Regions from separate parts of the Homo sapiens genome. Here region 1 is linked to region 2. The links are contacts of gene promoters, found by promoter capture Hi-C in blood cells and fetal thymus (Javierre and others, 2016). All regions are on one chromosome and are shown on one strand. Each heading gives the region's core, a stretch centred on a gene start or on the middle of the fragment in contact. The rest is flanking DNA. Distances are from core to core; before and after follow the strand shown. Region 1 overlaps ARL15 (ARF like GTPase 15). Region 2 holds the start of NDUFS4 (NADH:ubiquinone oxidoreductase subunit S4).

Region 1 (3,759 bases), core at 274-2,773, 580 kb before region 2:
TAAGTGGAGAGGTAGGGATCCAGTTTTGTTCTTCTACATCTGGTCATCTTGTTTTCCAGCACCGTTTATTAAATAAGATGTCCTTTTCTCAATTTATATTTTTGTGTGCTTTGCCAAAGGTCAGTTGGTTGCGTTTAGCTTTATTTCTGCATTCTCTATCCTGTTCCATTGGTAATTTTTATTTTTATTTTTTTAGAGATGGGGTCTCACTATGTTGCCTAGGCTGGCCTCGAACTCCTGGCCTCAAGTGATTCTCCCACCTTGGCCTCCCGAAATGTTGGGACAGGCATGAGCCACTGTACCTGGATCGAGATCCTCCTATTTTAAGATGTGTGGTGGTACTCTTCTGGAAGAAAATCCTAAATATAATAATAGAGATTTATACATTAGTAACTCTTATTAAGTAATTTGTAGCATTACAAAAGAATTAGTGGTTTTATAAAAGGTTTCAAATTTTCTGTAAACATTGAAGTCTCAATACATATTAAGTTATTTGATTTGGCTGCGTATTTTCCAGACCATTTCTAAGGCATACTTTGACTCTAAAATTCTCTTTTGTAAGTGATTAGTCACTGCATGTTCTCCTCATATTATTTCCTCATCCTACTTTCCTTTAAAAAAAAAAAAAGCTTTCTCTCTTAAAATCCATGTTACGGGATTCAAAGCTTCTGAAATCCACCATGCCCAACTATAATATACAATTTAAAATTCACATTAAATTTCATTGGGAATATTCTTTATAGGCTGTGATGAAATTAAAATCTTACATACTCCTCCATTTATCATCTGGAACAATATCTCTGTGAACAAGGAACAAAAGAACAAAGAAATGATGGTTACAAGATAAGGAAATCTAGTAGGTAAGAGCCTGCACAATTTTGAGATAAAGTTCTGAATTTTTACTTTTCTTGTTTTTATATATTGTATCATGGTGTCTACCCCAGGTTTATTAGAGAAGCTGAAATATTAACCTTGATTGGCAGAGTGGCTATTATCGTTTTTATGTGTACTAGGCTAGGGCTGGGCCACCAGTTTAAAGAGGTGTCAACTGAGGAGTGGAAGAAAAGGTTGTGGCATGTCAGGTTATACCCTAAAAGTGTAAAGTCCCATGGCAATACAATGTGAGCCCTAATGCAGAAAATACTCTCAGAGGAACATGTCCTCTTTGCATAGCATCGCTGGGAATCTCGTCCAGGGAGTTCAATGGGGCAGGTCACCAGAGGAGGACACAAGGGGCAAGTGCAGGACGGCCATGTGCATCATTTGGCCCATGTGCTGACCATATGAAACCTGCTTTGGGACTGGAAAATGCCTGACATGGCTAACCTAGAATATATCACTTTGCTGGTTCCTGGCACCATCCTTGTTTTTAATGTGCAATGAGTGGCTGCTGTTGCACTGTTTGAACATTACTATGCCTTGCTGACCTAGGGGAGCCTGAAGCAAAAAAAAAAAAAAGGTTATCTACTGCAGTTCTAAATCAAATTTTAAAACAACAAAACATTTTAATATCTGTAGCTGGAAGGAGAATGTTTGGAGCTGTGCAACTGGCAGGCAAGAGTGTAGTGACTGAAGAAGAGATGATTCTTGGGCCAGTTTTGGACACAAACTGAACTAAACTAAAAAAAAAAAAAAAACCCAGGCAGACTGTCCTGTCTAGCTTCCCAGTAAAGTCAGAGGGGACAGTCCTGGCAGTACTATGGATTTGTATGCTGGGATAGATATAAACAGCAAAACTCTCAGCCCTGTGGCTATAAAAAGAATTATTTTTTATGATGTGTTCGTTGTTTAAGAGCAGGCTGTGAGTTTTGTTTAACATTTAATTCCAATACAGTTCAAAAACCAGAATTCTATCTTGTGTGCTTAAGCTCTTTCAGATGTTTTTATTGTGTAACATTTTCTCCAGATTCTTCTTTTAATGTATGTTTTTTTTTCCCTCACAATCTGTTAAAAGATCAGTTTGCGTGAATCTTGACACTGTGATGCTATTTCATGGTTTTAATTTGAATGCGAGCTGTTGCAGCTGGAAGCATATGATTAATGATACAGACTTGTTTGTCACAAAAACAGATGATATTTTACATTTAGTCAAGATGCATTGAAAAATTGACTTGCTTGTATTTTACTGGCTGTAAGTCACATTTTAATTCACTTTTGAATTCTCCTTATAATTTGAATTAATCTTAAACATGCAGATATATCTCTCATGATGTAGCTGGCTATTGAAGGTATTTGAAGGATGATTAGAAAATCGCATATTAAATATACATTATCCATTAGTTAAGTAGTCATTTTTAAAATTTTTTTTGCTGATAAAATTGTACTAAATGAGTCAATGAATCTGGGAGTCAGTATACAAAGAGAGTGGGAATAAAGCTTATAAATTCATTGTTCTTGATGGCTTATATATTTTTATATACTTTTACAGTTTACCTGAATAACAAGGTGATGTTTCTGATCTCCCTTGCCTTCTGCTGTCTTGAAACTCTGCCCCACATGAGACAAGGCAGTGTTTTCCAGATTTTCTACCATCACTCTGGAACTCAGAGTGGGCTATGGGTGCATTTGCTGCAGTGGGCAGTGGTCTAACCTGTCCTTCTCAGAAGCAGTGTCAGGAAAGTTGGGTATGCAGTCTCCTTCAGAAATGAGTCTTATAATAGCATTCTACCTTCCAGCAGTTTTTATCTCATAAAAGAATATGAAACCATATTTGTTAAATCAGACATTTCTTGCTCAAACCTGTTACACCAAATAGGAATTTGCTGTTTTCAAATCTCTGGCATGTGACTGAACTGAACAGTCCCAAACTGAGTACTTGCATGGTGAGGAAGTCAGTCTCAGAAAGTATGTATATATGCCATGTTTGAAGAGTTTTCATTATTATCATTCATTATAATTTACTAAAATGCAACTCTCTGTTTCTTTGTTAAAATAATCTTAGCTCTGCCTTGTGGAGCCACACTAACAAATAGTACAGCTCCCCTAGATAGTAATTGGGAAACATGAATTTAGGTGTCATGTATTCTGAAGGATCACTTTTCAATCTAATTATCTTCCATTTCTTCAACTATTTTTCCTATGATGTGGTCTCCAGGTCTATCACGATCCTCCTTGTCTCCTGGAGAAGTATTAAATTGTGGGGTCCCTTGTAAAATATGTGCCTAGAAGCATGATGCTATAGATGTGGTCTGACCAGTGATATTCATCTCTTTTTAGGTTTGCTTTTTCTTTTCATGCCAACAACACGAATCATAGCACCCTACTGGCCCATGTTGGATAAGCTGTCAAAACATCCAGCTGTTTTTAGTCATGTCTTTCCCATTGTGTTCTTCAGCTGATTTTTTTTTTATTCCAAGTACCAGACATTACTTATATCTCTATTAAATTTCATTGTGTAAGTGCTGGCTCATTGTTCCAGCTTGTCAAGAACTTTTTGGCTTTTTTTCTTTTATCATCCAACATATTAGCAATTCCTTTCAGCTTTGAGACATCTGTAAATATTAAAATAATTTCTTCAACTTTTTAATTCAATTAAAATATGTAAACATGTATCAGACTGTCTACTCTGTGCTAATCTCAGGCTCCCTGCTAGAAATAACAAGATGGATAAAATGTAATCATTCCAGCTGGGCGCAGTGGCTCACGCCTGTAATCCCAGCACTTTGGGAGGCCGAGGTGGGCAGATCACCATGTCAAGAGATTGAGACCATCCTGTCCAACATGGTGAAACCTCATCTCTACTAAAAACACAAAAATTAG
Region 2 (3,569 bases), core at 571-3,070:
AATTACTATAATTGCTGACAAAATGGCTTTGACTTAAAATTACAGCCATGTTTTGATTAGCCATAAACCAGTGGTCCCTTCAAACTTGTTTTCAGTTCTGGGGCTACCATGAGTACATTATTATCTGGGAATGACAATTAATCCCTATAATCTGTACGGGAGGAAGGGCTAATCTTGGTCACCGCTATATTAACTCTAAGTTAACCAGTGAAGTATTTTACCTTAGAAAAATACTTAACCCAGCCTGACCAACATGGTGAAACCCCGCCTCTACTAAAAATACAAAAATTAGCCAGGTGTGGTGGTGCGCGCCTGTAATCCCAGCTAGTCAGGAGGCTGCGGCAGGAGAACTGCTTGAACCCGGGAGGCGGAGGTTGCAGTGAACCAAGATCACGCCATTGCACTACAGCCTGGGCGTCAGAGTGAGAATGTATCTCAAAAAAAAAAAGAGAAAGAAAAAGGAAAAATACTTTCCATATATGGAACACTTAATTACAAACATCATTTGCCTTTCCCCAATCTTAGCACCCTTACTTTTGAGTGACTCTATTCTATGTATTTAGTAATCGTTTAACTAATGCTTTCAAGCCTTTTCATAAGCCACGGACCCTACGGGACACTCTCTTCTTTCCCACCCAACACCCACTATATTTAAACCTTAATAAAACTCATCCTTAAAAATTCTTCCGAATTAACTCATCCTAATTCTCTGCATTCCATTTATATTTAACACTAAATCAATTAGCATTCTACTAGACCTTCCTTTCAACTTTTAACCACTTGCATCCACCTCCTACCCCCTTCAAATCTCTCCATCCAGTCTTTCCAATCTTTGTTCTAATATGTGTGTGTATGTACGTATAGCATTAGTACTATAATTTAAAAAACTCCAGGAAATTCTGAAAAATAGAAAATGGAAGGTTAATACAGCCAAAAAAAAAAAAATCATCACAAAAATGCTTCAAGGAAAAACAGTAACAACTCAATCAACTGACAACTGAATCTGACAATACTTTGGAAAAGTACTACTTTAGGTTCTCAAGGACGCAAAGAGCCCTCAACAACTCAATTCAATCCCTGAATTATTGTGAGGCTTTAACAAAATCCCTAGAAAACCTCCAGGCATTACCACCAGCCTTTTAAAAATTACCTTCCAATATTACTAGCAGTGATATTTTTACTAACACTGAATTCCAAACAAGTTTTCCTCCCAAGCAGACTGATGAATAAACAATCTTCCTATGCAGAAACCAAATTAAAACCACTTAAAACCATGGAAGGGATACAGTGATTTAACCCTTCTGTAAGGACTGGAGTGGTGGGCAAACAGGTGACAAATGGAAGGGATGCAGAAAGTGGAAACAGAAATCAGTGAGACTCCTCCCCTTCTCTGAGGGCTAAGGTTCAGCTTGCAGCTCCGGAGGCAAAACCTCCACGGACCCTCTCCCTCAGCGACAAGCCGAATACGAAAGCTTCCAGAAAACCACAGGTCCTCCTCCCCGGCCTCGCACTCACGCCCTCACTCGCCTGGCCAACGCCCATTGATAGCAGACAGTCCCTAGTCCGCCCGACTTCTCCCGAGAAAAGGGTCAACAGAGGACGCCTTCCCCGAGGCCTCCTCCGGAACTCAGCCAGCAGAGACTCCGCAAAAATGGAGGGACCCAAGAAGCTTGAAGAAAAGTGTGAAAATTCTATTACCTGGTCGGAACCCTGGAAACGGAAAGGGCAGCTACAGCCACTGCCCTTCTCCGCCACAACGTCTGCCTCAGTACCACTGACATTGACACCGCCGCCATCTTGCTGCAGGCAAACGCCAGGATGAAAGGACGGATCACCGCAAGGGACTAACTTCCTTCGTTCTCAAGCCAGTGCAATCGCAATGTTGCGAAATTCTTTGGGATTTTATTTTCTTTTTAATACTGGGGCTTAAAAAAAGAGGGGAAACGCTTAGTTTAAATAAGTAAGAAGAAAAATGTGCGGGAAGAAATGCAGAAGTGCATTAACTGTAAATATTACCACCATAAAGTGTAATCTTTACTGCTTGTTAGGACTGGTGTTTTACAATGATAACGAAAAGACCAAAATATACTTGCATATTTAAACACCTGCAACTCGTAATTTATTGAAGAAATTAGGATATTTGGGGCTGAACCCACTGGAAAAGCTGGAGAGCTCTTTGGGTCCTTGAGAACCTGCAGTAGTACTTTTCCAAAGTATTGCCAGATTCACTTTGCAAGCCCTCAGGACAGGGCTGTATTCAGTTTGATATTCTGTAGTAGTAATGTTCGTATTTTCCAAACGAAAAATCTGGATACGTGATCTGGCAAAGGATTATTTTTTGACATGTAGATTTATATGAAGAATCAATAGAACATAATATTTGATGTCACTGTTTCCCCAGTAAATCCTGAATGTGTGTGTGTTCATAATCCATAGACATGAAGAATGATATTAATGCTCCATGCATATAAAACAAAAATTATCTTCCAATACAAGTGTTGGAAACATGTTTGTATTGTGGACTTCCGACCTTAAAGAATAATGACTAACTGAATTATATAAAATAAAAAGCAGGTTAGTTTTGGGTTTTGTTTTTTAAGAAATTTGTTTAAAGAGTTAGTACTTTCCTGCTTTTAAAATTAAGCACATGAAAACATAACCTTCATTAAATAAATAGGAACAATAGGAGGATGGGGAATGACATAGTTTGGCATTATGGACCGTTAAAGGAAAACCCAGTACATAAGGGAAAGGGAGAAAGAAAGAGAAAAAGTCATACTCAGGGAAAGAAATGCACAAGATGAAGGAAGGCAAGGGAGAGATGCCTCAGAGAAAATTTTCTTTCAAACTTTTCATTTTGAAATAGTTATAGATTCACATGAAGTTGCAAAGATAGTACAGATGTCTTGTGTACCTGTTTCCCCCAGTGATTACATCTCGTATAACTCTAGTACAGTATCAAAGCCAGGAAACTGGCATTGATATAAAGTATTTGTGTAGTCCTATGTCATTCTACTACATATTTTGTGTAACCACCACCATGATCAAGATACAGAACTATTCCACCCTCACAAAGATCTCCCTAGTGCTAACCTTTTTGGTAACACCTGCCCTCCTAACCCTAGTGATCTCTGTTTCTGTTTTTATAATTTTGACATTTTGAGATGTTATATGAATGGACTCATGCAGTACATGACCTTCTAAGATTGGCTTCTTTCACTTGGCATAATGCACTTGAGACCCATCCAAGTTGTTGTGTTTATCAATAGTTCATTCCTTTTTTATTGCTGAGTAATATTCCATGACATGGATGTACCACAATTTGTTTAACCATTCACCTATTGCAGAACATTTTGATTGTTTCCCATTTGGGGCCATTACAAATAAAACTGCTGCAAACAATTGAATACAGGTTTTTATGTGGACAAAAATCTTCATTTCTCTGAGATAAATGCCCAGGAGTGCAATTGCCAGGTCATGTGATACATGTATGTGTCATTTTTTAAAGAAATTAAAAACTGTTTTCCAGAGTAACTGTAACATTTTACATTTCCTCCAGCAATGTATGA

What was found. The method cuts DNA at HindIII sites, captures the fragments that hold promoters and counts their contacts. A CHiCAGO score of 5 or more calls a contact.
Region 1: a contact is called between a fragment that was not itself captured here and the fragment with the promoter of NDUFS4 in region 2, in 2 of 17 cell types (naive B cells and M0 macrophages). The highest score is 5.2, in naive B cells.

The regions. Positions count from the first base shown.
Region 1 is chr5:54,134,748-54,138,506 of GRCh38, reverse strand. All of the region lies in intron 3 of ARL15 (ARF like GTPase 15), which reads left to right. Among named protein-coding and RNA genes, the nearest start is that of ARL15, 170 kb to the left of the region's middle. The HindIII fragment of the contact is 1,711 bases long and covers 668-2,378 here.
Region 2 is chr5:53,558,890-53,562,458 of GRCh38, reverse strand. It overlaps NDUFS4 (NADH:ubiquinone oxidoreductase subunit S4), which reads right to left and starts at 1,820. Exons shown (of 5, transcript NM_002495.4): 1 at 1,699-1,820. The coding sequence starts at 1,796. RefSeq lists an enhancer at 1,419-1,918. The HindIII fragment of the contact is 3,063 bases long and covers 1,672-3,569 here.